Linked DNA regions of Homo sapiens: region 2 is linked to region 1. The links are contacts of gene promoters, found by promoter capture Hi-C in blood cells and fetal thymus (Javierre and others, 2016). All regions are on one chromosome and are shown on one strand. Each heading gives the region's core, a stretch centred on a gene start or on the middle of the fragment in contact. The rest is flanking DNA. Distances are from core to core; before and after follow the strand shown.

Region 1 (5,224 bases), core at 2,494-4,993:
CTCTGTAACATTACTGCTTTGGGAGTAGGTGAGTAAGGTCTGGTAAGTAAGGACTAATTCATTGAATACATGAAATACTGCCAAACTGGAACTACTAAAACTCAAATGATAACTTGAGATTACAATGGCCATTAGCCTAAAACCTAAAATTTTACAGCTAATACAAAAATTAAGAATGGTTTATTGGGCCAGACATGGTGGCTCATGCCTGTAATCCTAACATTTTGGGAGGCCGAGGCAGGAAGACTGCTTGAAGCCGGGAGTTCAAGACCAGCCTGGGCAACAAAGTGAAACTCTGTTTCTATCTAAAAATTGTAATAAGCAAAAACATTTTTTAATTTAAAAAAGAATGGTTTCTTTCCAAAAGTAATTAAGTATACACACATATCAATCCGTACCTGATTTCTCTGCTTTTCAACTTCCTCCTCAGACATGCAGTTGGACAGAACCTCAGACCATTCCAGGCGCTCCTCAGGTGTCTTCATTGAAAGACTATCAAATATTTCGAAGTAAAGCCACGCCAGGTCCTTGGCCAACTGCAGCTTCCCACAAGCGATGTGCCTCCATGTAGACCAGTAGAGGCGCGGGTAAGCTCCTTCTGTGGCCCGGATTTGCACATAGGTGGATATCTTCCTGAGATAGTGAAGACTAAACTTGGATGGAGGGGGGACCTGCAAGGCACCCACTATAAAGGGTTCTGCTTTCACCCAGAGGAGAACTCTGGACTGATCCATATTATCTCTAAGGACATCAGGGTGAAAAGGCTTCTTTGCATACCTAGGAAACAAAGTTTCTTCATAAACTGATTTGAAACAAGTCTCATTTATGCATTTTTTCTTGGAAGGTGACCCCTCTCTCTCAACTGTGTCATATGTACTACATCATCATCTTAAAAGGCAGCTCTAGTTCACCAACCAAGAGCAGAACAGTTTTTTTAATCAGATCTCATTATAATCTGAGAAAAAAATTGTGATAAAACAAAATTATCTTACTTGAATTGTTAGAAATCCTTGTTTTAGGAAGTGTGTGTAGATGCATGAAGTCTGAGTGAGATCCCAGGAAGAAAATGAATGAGGGGAAAAAAGTCATCCTATCACAGGAAACCTTTTTCTACTCTGAGGGGGAACACTGTTCAAAATAAGGGAAATACATTTCACAGAGTTAAATCACTTACACAGAAGACAGTTGGTTAAAGATCTGGACATGTTAGCTGAGCATATAAATTCAATATGAAGTGCTAATGTGAGGCAGCAGGCAAGAATGCTAATGTAAATGTAGACTGCAAGAATAGATCAGGAGAAGTTACAGCATCTTTATTCTCTATAACAGTGAACCCACTCTAGCATATTTGATCCTGCTCAGTTCAGGTGTGATTTTTTAGATTTTTTTTTGTTGTAACAATGATACATGATTTTTATGGAATATTTATAAAATACAAAAACAGGGAACCATCCACAATCCCACAAGTAAAGGGCAACAAATTAATATTTTATTGTATTTCCTTCTTCTTCTTCTTTTTTTTTTTTTTTTTTTGAGATGGAGTTTCCCTCTGTTGCCCAGGCTAGAGTGCAGTGGCATGATCTCAGCTCACTGCAACCTCCACCTCCCAGGTTCAAGCGATTCTCATGCCTCAGCCTCCCCAGTAGCTGGGACTACAGGCGTCCACCACCACACCTGGCTAATTTTTGTATTTTTAGTAGAGATGGGGTTTAACTATGTTGGCCAGGCTGATCTCAAATTCCTGACCTCAAGTGATCCCTCGCCTCAGCTTCCCAAAGTGCTAGGATTACAGGCTTGAGCCACTATGCCTGGCCTCTTTGTCTTTTTTCTACACATAAATTAGATGTTAGTTTTTGAATTTTCACAGTTGTGATGTTACATACACAATTCTGTACTGTTTCAAAAGCTTTATAGTATTCTAAATAAATGTATCCCATTTTATTCAACTCTTCTCCCATTTTTAGACACCTTACTAGGTTTCAGATTTTTCACAAAAACAACATAGGCAAAATACTGATCATTATTGAAGTGGGGTAATGGGTACGTGGGGGGCTCACTGATTCTATTTTTGTGTATGTTAAAAAATTTCATTACAAAAGTTCAAATGTTGTCACAAGTGTAAATAATGCTATCACTACCATCTTTCTTCATATTTTCTGCATTACGAATTATTTCTGTGTGAAAATTTTCAGATGTACTTTTGTGAAATTAAGTAATTGACATTTCTAAAGCTTGTGAAATATATCCTTGTTGCTTCCAAATGATTTTATCAAATTGTACCATCCTTTGACTCTGGTACCTACTTCACTGTGCACTCCTCAACATTAGCAACATCATTTTTTTAAAAATATAAAAACTAATTTAAAAAATCAATTATATGACTGATGAAAATTTTATTGCTATTATTATATTTTGCATTTGATTCTAAGAAAACTGTGCTTCTCTCTTTTTTTTTTTTTTGAGACGGAGTCTCGCTCTGTTGCCCAGGCTGGAGTGCAATAGCTCGATCTCGGCTCATTGCAACCTCCACCTCCCAGGTTCAAACGATTCTCCTGCCTCAGCCTCTCAAGTAGCTGGGATTACAGGCTCCCGCCACCACGCCAGGCTAATTTTTGTATTTTTTTAGTACAGACAGGGTTTCACCATGTTGGCCAGGCTGGTCTTGAACTCCCTGACCTCAGGTGATCCGCCTGCCTTGGCCTTCCAAAGTGCTGGGATTACAGGCGTGACCCACCGCACCCGGCCTGCCAACTGTGCCTCTCTCGAGAATCATCTGTTCGGAAAAATAACTGACATCAATCGAGTGCTTACTATGTACCAGGTATCATGCTCATGATTTTGCATACTTCACCTCCTTTCATCCTCACAACCACCTGGAGATACAGTACTTAAGACTGTACACATTTTCGATGAAAAAAAAATGAGGCTTAGCGAAGTTAAGGGATTTCCCTAAGGACACCTACTTAGCTGGCACAGCTCTAGATTAGGATTCAGGTCTGACTTGAGAACTGCATTACTATAAATGTACTCTAGGAATCCAGTTTTGGGAGAATCTCTTAAAAACGGGAGTGGATCCAGAAGAGAATTTCCAGAATAAAGAGTCTTAGACAGGAAGCCAGGTGAAAGAACCAGGGAGAGTAAACTCAAAAGAAGGGCGTGGAAGGGCAAAAGGCAGCTGTCTTCCAATGTGGAGAGACTGGAGTCGTTTTGAGTAAAACCAGACGATAAAAGTTAGGCGAGGAAGACCTCGGTTCTCTCCAAAATGTAAAGAGGCTGCTCTGTGAGGTACTGAGCCCCTGTCAACAGCCAGATCCCAGAGATGAGCCCTCCATTCTAACTCCGAGAATCGAGAGGGCTCAATCCGTAAACAAACATAAACTGGGGCTCTGACCCTGGCGGTGCCCTGAGGTTAAGGTTTTTCAGGTCGGGAGATCGGCGTGGGTCCAAGGCGGCTGTCCTGGGGCTTCGCCGCCACCTTGGACGCGATCCGGGGTGGGACTCTGCGTGGGCCGCCCCAGCGTCGCGACCGGACTTCAGGAACACAGACGCTCACGCTGACAGGGTCGGTAGCTGACCCGAGACGCGGTAAGCGCGAAGGCAGCCTCCTCGACCCAAGCCTGAAGCCTGACTAACCCACACCGCCCTCCCCGGCGCACCCAGTGCGCGGTTACCTGCTAATGCAGGCGCCGCTCCGCCGCACTTCTCCGCGCGCCGCCGCGCCCGGCGTCCGCTCGCTGGGCCCGCCCCTCACCCTCCTCCGCGCGCCGCTGCCGTGCCCACTGCGCAAGCGCGAGGCCCCGCACCACCGAGACCTGGCGGACCCCGTTGCTAGAGCGGCAGATTGCGGCTCAAGCGTCTGAGAAAATCTAGGCTGGGGTCGAGAGTCCGCAACAGTGGCACCTGGAGCCAGACCCACCGCTTTCTGGTGTCGCGCCTTTCAACCCGGGGGGGTAGGAAGCTTTCTGTTGCTCCGCATAACTGTGGTCAGCTAATAGCTGCTGGTAAGATCAGCACGCTTTCATCAGAAATGCTACTAATACTAATGGCAGTTTGCATTTATAGAGCACTTACTATGGTCTCAGCACTGTGTAAAGCAACTTTATGTGTATTTCCTAAGTCTTGTCAAGAGCCCTTTAAGTACATTCGTTTTACTGATGAAGAAACTAGGGCCTAGAAAGGTGAAAATAACACAACCCTAAGGTCACACAAGAGATGGAGCCAAGATTCAAGCCCAGGGCGTCTGAAGCAAGACTGGCACTCCCTGCCGCCCCTCGGTGTCAGCTCCTTAACTCTGTTAGCTTTCCTGCCGTGTTTCCACCTTCATGAAGCTTTTTCAGATTACCGGGCAGAAGCCATCACTCCTTCCTTTAAACTTCCATTTCAGAATTTCTGGACATTTCCTGCTTTTTTTAGTTCCTTTATGGCCTCTCTAGGTGTGATAGATACAAAGGTAAATTAGACCGTAAAATGCAATTTAGTTCCTCTTTTGTGTGGCCATTGTCCCTACTGGGTATCTTCCTGAAAGCAGGGGCTTCAAATTTACACATACCTGGGTTAGGATCCAGGCTGCACCACTTATTAGCTCAGTGACCCTGCTGTTACTTGTTGAGTACCACTGTGTGTCTGGCACAGTGGTACGCACTAGAATGACAGAAGTGAACAAAACAGACAAGGTCCTTGCTTTCTTGGAGTGTATAACAGGGAGAATAGACAATACATATTAAGGAATAAAATAAGATAATTTCAAATAGTGAAAAATGCTATGAAAATTGGGGCGGGGGGTCAGGGAAGGCCACTTTGTGGTGCCAAATTTGAGCTGAGGCCTGAAGAGTAAGAAGCCAGCCATACAATGATCACCATCCCAGTAACTTTGACTCAAAAGTACTTCAGCACCTACTCCATGCCAGGCACTGTTCTAAGGTGCTCTTTTATACAGCTGTGAACAGAACAATATAGATTCATGCTCTCATGAAACTGGCATTTCAGTGTGTAAGTCTAGGGACCAGGGATGAAAAAAATAGGAGGCCGGGCGTGGTGGCTCATGCCTATAATCCCAGCAGTTTGGGAGGCTGAGGCGGGTGGATCACTTGAGGTCAGGAGTTCGAGACCAGCCTGGCCAACATGGTTAAACCCAGTCTCTACTAAAAATACAAAAAAATTAGACGGACATGGTGGTGTGCGCCTGTAGTCCCAGCTACTCGGGAGGCTGAGGCAGGAGAATCGC
Region 2 (5,224 bases), core at 1,711-4,210, 230 kb before region 1:
TAGAGATGGAGGCTTACGGAACATTGACTTGAAGGCAGATACCCAAGCAGTTACTGCATGGAACATATCAATGTATACTATGTATGAACATGTGTAATGTATGTGGGCTTATAGGATAAACAATATGTATTATGTCTTTTCATTCTTTATGAGTATTATTTATATACATGAGAATTTTAGTATCTGTGAACGATGCATGAATGTATACCATTGTTAAATAAATGAATCACCTTCACCTAAAGTTCCCCTACACCAGAAATTATAGAGGACTTATTCTACCTTGAAATCCTGTTCTATCTTCTAGTTAGTTTATCCTTTCCTATAAAGTTGGTTAAAATAATGATGTTCAATGGGCAATTATGCTTGTGCATTTATCAAGCTTTTAGTATGTTTAAAATACTCTGCTAGGAGCTATGGGGGAGGCAAAGATGAATTAGGATTACCTTAGCCATCAGTGAACTTAAAGCCCATTGGGGATATCACAGAGCTTCCATAAAAGCTATAGTACTGAGCTGTGTGTGCTAAGGGCTGTGGAGCTCAGAGAAAGAAGAGCTCAGACAGCGATGATGTTGACATGGTTGACTGAGAAGAAAGAGCAGAAAAGACTCCTGTTTACTAACTGTGTCTTACATGCCTCCACCGGAGAGAGGAACTACTAAAATCAAAACCTCAAGACTCCTAAATTGGATGTAACTTTAAAAGAGGTTTTTTCATGCTATGAGATTATGTTTTTGTATTTTCAATTTCAATAAAAAATACAGCTAATGGGTTCCTCAGTTCAAACTAATTAGGAATGTGCTATTTCATTTCCCCCAAATCTTCCAAAATAATGAGCCCAGCTTACTGAAGCATGTGTGTGGGTTGTGGGGGTGGGTGGTATGCCAAGAGGCCTGTACGCTGGGGCCTGTGAGATATTGAAGGTTTCTCTGCTGCTCCTTTGTACCACTGGCTTCTGATGTGGAGCACAAAGTGTCAGCAGTACCCGGAAATCTATATCTGCCAGGAAACAGAAAAGAGTATCACCCCAAGCTCCAACAAACCTGAGTCAGCATGTCCTCCATGACATTTCCTATATTTGTGGTCTTGAGCATACTATTTATTCTACCTAATCTCTTGAGCCCAAGTTTCCTCATCTGGAAAATGGGAATAGTGGTATCACCTTACACAGTAGGATTAAAGATAATGAATATAGGTTTCCCAGGGCCGTGCCTGGCACAGGTCTCCACAGATGTTAATTCCCTTCCCTTCCTCTTTATCAGACACAGGTAAATGTGCCAAGATTCCCTGACCCCTTGAGTGTCCTCATAAAATGGAGAAGTGGTTTAAAATGAGAGAAAGTATGAATTTAGAGATGAAAAATCTTCGAGGAAGAGGATGGGAGGGAAAGAAGATGCTTTTCAGTACCAGCTGTAGAAGACAAAACATTGTAAATTTTCACCTTCATCTCTAGAAGCTGTTAATGAATAAGTAAATTTAAAAAACTATAAACTTTATGGAAACATCTGCTTGCAGGGGTTAGGAGTGGCTGGATGTGTGGGCCAGACTAATAACACTGGAGGGGTTGGGAGAAGAGCACAGAGTTAGTCATTTGGCTGAATGTGTTTAATAAATTACAACCCAATTGGAGGGACTGGCTCCCTGGGTGAGTCACTTTGAACTAGGCAAAAATAGCCAACAGAAACCAGCCCCAACTAAAGAAAAATAAATCATTTTATTTGATTGACTGACATTGTTTTGATCAGAGTGTGAAATCACATGCTGAGTTTAGTTTGGTCAGAAAGCCACCCTGTTGCTGATGGAATCACATGCACATATTCATTCCTCTAACCACTTGCTAGATGTAACTTTTAAATATATAAATACTCTACTCTCAAACTTACCTTCCTCCCACGTCTATCTCCAAAACTAAACAACTAACTTTTTCAATGAAGAAGTCATTCTCCACATTTCCTGGGCTTGATACATTGGCTTTATTTACCTTTAGTCTCCTTCCCCTCTCTGAAATCTCAATACCAAATCAGACATCAATTCGCCAAGTTTTGTCTTTTATCTTTCAGCTCTGCCCCTTTCTCTCCATTAAATTCCTTGTAACAGCACCTCCAGTTTCTGGGTAGGGGCTTCTTAATGGCCCTAGCAGGTCTCTGGTCTCATAACTATCTTCTCACTCATTTTAGTCTGTTCTGCACATGAGACTACCGAAAACCACAAGCTTCAATTATTTTCCAGGTCAAGAACTAAACTATCAGTTTGTGTTCAGTGCCTTTTCCAAGTATTCAAGGTACTTTATCTCCTAGGCTAACTGGATCTCCCACTAGTTTGAGGGGCGAGACTGTGAAGGACTTGGGAATAGGGATAATGTTGTCATTGTTCTTTCTGCTGATCATTGGGATTCTGGGATAACAAAGAAGCAGATATCACTAAGTGGCTGTAGATTTCTGGACCATGATTTATCATATGCTGGAAGGGTAAGTTCATGTCTGGTCATGAAGGACTTGCATCTACTAAGCATGGGGGACATGTATTTAGTACAGGGTGATGAGTAAGAGGATCAAAGAGCTGGGATAGAGCCAGATGCAGTGGTACACAACTGTAGTCCTAGCTACTTGGGAGGCTGAGGAAGGAAGATGGCTTGAGCCAAGAAGTTCAAGACCAACCTGGGCAATATAGTGAAACCACCAACTCAGAAATAAAATAAAATATAAAAGAGTTGGGATGATACCATGATACCATGAATCTATCCAGGAACTGCTGGTAAAACAAAGACAAGAGAGGGAAGGTACCTGGTGACACGTACACATATGTATACATAATTATAAAGAATACTAGAGAAGTGTCTGTTCATGTCCTTCGCCCACTTTTTGATGGGGTTGTTTGTTTTTTTCTTGTAAATTTGTTTGATATAAAGACACATGCACACGTATGTTTACTGCAGCATTATTCACAATAGCAAAGACTTGGAACCAACCCAAATGTCCAACAATGATAGACTGGATTAAGAAAATGTGGCACATATACACCATGGAATACTATGCAGCCATAAAAAATGATGAGTTCATGTCCTTTGTAGGGACATGGATGAAATTGGAAAACATCATTCTCAGTAAACTATCGCAAGAACAAAAAACCAAACACCCCATATTCTCACTCATAGGTGGGAATTGAACAATGAGGACACATGGACACAGGAAGGGTAATATCACACTCTGGGGACTGTTGTGGGGTGGGAGGAGTGAGGAGGGATAGCACTGGGAGATATACCTAATGCTAGATGACGAGTTAGTGGGTGCAGTGCACCAGCATGGCACATGTATACGTATGTAACTAACCTGCACAATGTGCACATGTACCCTAAAACTTAAAGTATAATAAAAAAAAATACTAGAAACTACATTAATGGGCTGAATAGTCTAGACAGCAAGAGATTGATTTGTTACGGAAATTCACGACCCTAAGGATAGAGCACCTAGAGATATCATGAGTGAGCAGAATATGGTAAAGAACACATGTGAGTTCATTATGAGCATTTTCTACAGGCCGCTTGGCCACAGGAAGAAATGGAGGGTGGATTCTTAGCCACTGTTATTCTGTCATAAGGGAAGTTACAGCAGTGAAAGTGGTCTTGTGCTGACTGAACACTTGCAAAACGCCCTTTTCAGCTAAAAATAGCGCATCAGACAAGTCTCTTCATTTCCCTTGTTGACATGGAATAAAGAAGCTTAACTAGATACACTCCTCTGTCTCTCATTCTTTATTTTTTTATTTGATTTTTTGTTTTGTTTTATTTCTGTTTTTTTTCTCTCGGTCCCTCATTCTGACCAACAGAAAGACCCTGCTTGGTGAAGCAAGCAGAAGAGACATATTAGGAGAAACAAGCCACTCCAGCTCAGAAGACATGATTGTCAATGAGGAGAAGGCTGGCTGTAATAAGTAGCCAAGAAGTCTAGATTTAGGCAGTCTAAAAAGTTAAAAAGAAGATAGTTATGATTAGATGAGATTCTGGAATAGAGGCAGCCTGAAGTTTTCCAAAATGGGGAAGCGTTCAAAAATCATTCCAATAAAAAGGGAAAAGAAATGGTCCTTTTAAAAAATGTGCCTGCAGGCTCACCCACAGATTCCCATCTGAAAAAGACACTTAGAAAAAAAGGAAAAGAAAGGCACACAACCAAGGAACATATAGGAAGATGGCACAAACTTAAACGGAAAAATTATAATGTGAAAAAAATAGCTGAAAGTGATCTGAAATACTAAATGACAATAACAACAAAAAACCCCACTATGGGCCAAAAAAAGTTGGAGGAATTCTGGGAACTGGGCCAGTTCATTTTAGACCCATAAGAGCAAAGAACAGCTTAGTCTATCGCTTGTGAACGAGGATTACCAGAACCTCCATGGAGGCTACTGAACCACTTTCGTTGATCTTTGAAGAATTTTGGAGAAAAACAACAACAAGAAGCCAGAGGACCAGAAACAAGCAAATCTAATCTTCTTTCTTTCTTTTCTTTTTTTTTGGAGACAAAGTCTCACTCTGTCATCCAGGCTGGAGTGCAGTAGCGCAGTCTTGGCTCACTGCAACTTCTGCCTCACGGGGTGAAGTGATCCTCCCACCTCAGCCTCCTGAGTAGCCAGGACCACAGATGCGCACCACCATGCCTTGCTAATTTTTTTGTATTTTTGGTAGAGACGGGATTTCACCATGTTGCCCAGGCTGGTCTCAATTTCCTGACCTCAAGCAATCTGCCTGCCTCCCAAAGTGCTGGGATTATGTGTGAGCCACTGCACCTGGACTATCTTATTTTTATTATCAAAAAAGTGGAAGAAAATATATTCCACAAACTATCAACAGCGTGAGCATGATACTAGTCTTAGCTAAGAATCCAAATCATATTTTTAAATGATTTTAAAATAAAAATCACATATCATCTCATTATCCAACTATAATGACAATTAACATTTTGCTGTAAATTCTTTCTAGAATGTATCCATATATATGTAGGCATCTCTTTAAAAAAAAATTTCAAATTTGTTTTAGCTCTTTTTGTCTTTTTTTCACTTAGCAGTATATGGTGAGCATTATTTGGTGTTACTAAACATTCCTCAATACCAGCAAAACAATACTGTTTTCCCTGGTTACCTAGTATTTTATTGTGTAAATAGACATAATTTATTGACAGTTCCCTCTGCTGTTGTTTATCTTTAAAATCCATCTCTTGCAACTCAAAACCAC

Evidence for each region. Contacts are between HindIII fragments. The CHiCAGO score rates a contact against its expected background, and 5 or more counts as called.
Region 2: a fragment that was not itself captured here is called in contact with the fragment with the promoter of TBCCD1 in region 1 in 1 of 17 cell types (megakaryocytes); the score reaches 5.1 in megakaryocytes.

Annotation. Positions count from the first base shown.
Region 1 is chr3:186,563,596-186,568,819 of GRCh38, forward strand. TBCCD1 (TBCC domain containing 1) reads right to left here and starts at 3,744. Exons shown (of 8, transcript NM_018138.5): 1 at 3,672-3,744; 2 at 399-777. The coding sequence starts at 734. RefSeq lists a silencer at 3,648-3,937. The HindIII fragment of the contact is 1,727 bases long and covers 2,230-3,956 here.
Region 2 is chr3:186,338,800-186,344,023 of GRCh38, forward strand. The region is part of intron 1 of DGKG (diacylglycerol kinase gamma); the gene reads right to left. Among named protein-coding and RNA genes, the nearest start is that of DGKG, 21 kb to the right of the region's middle. The HindIII fragment of the contact is 1,506 bases long and covers 2,208-3,713 here.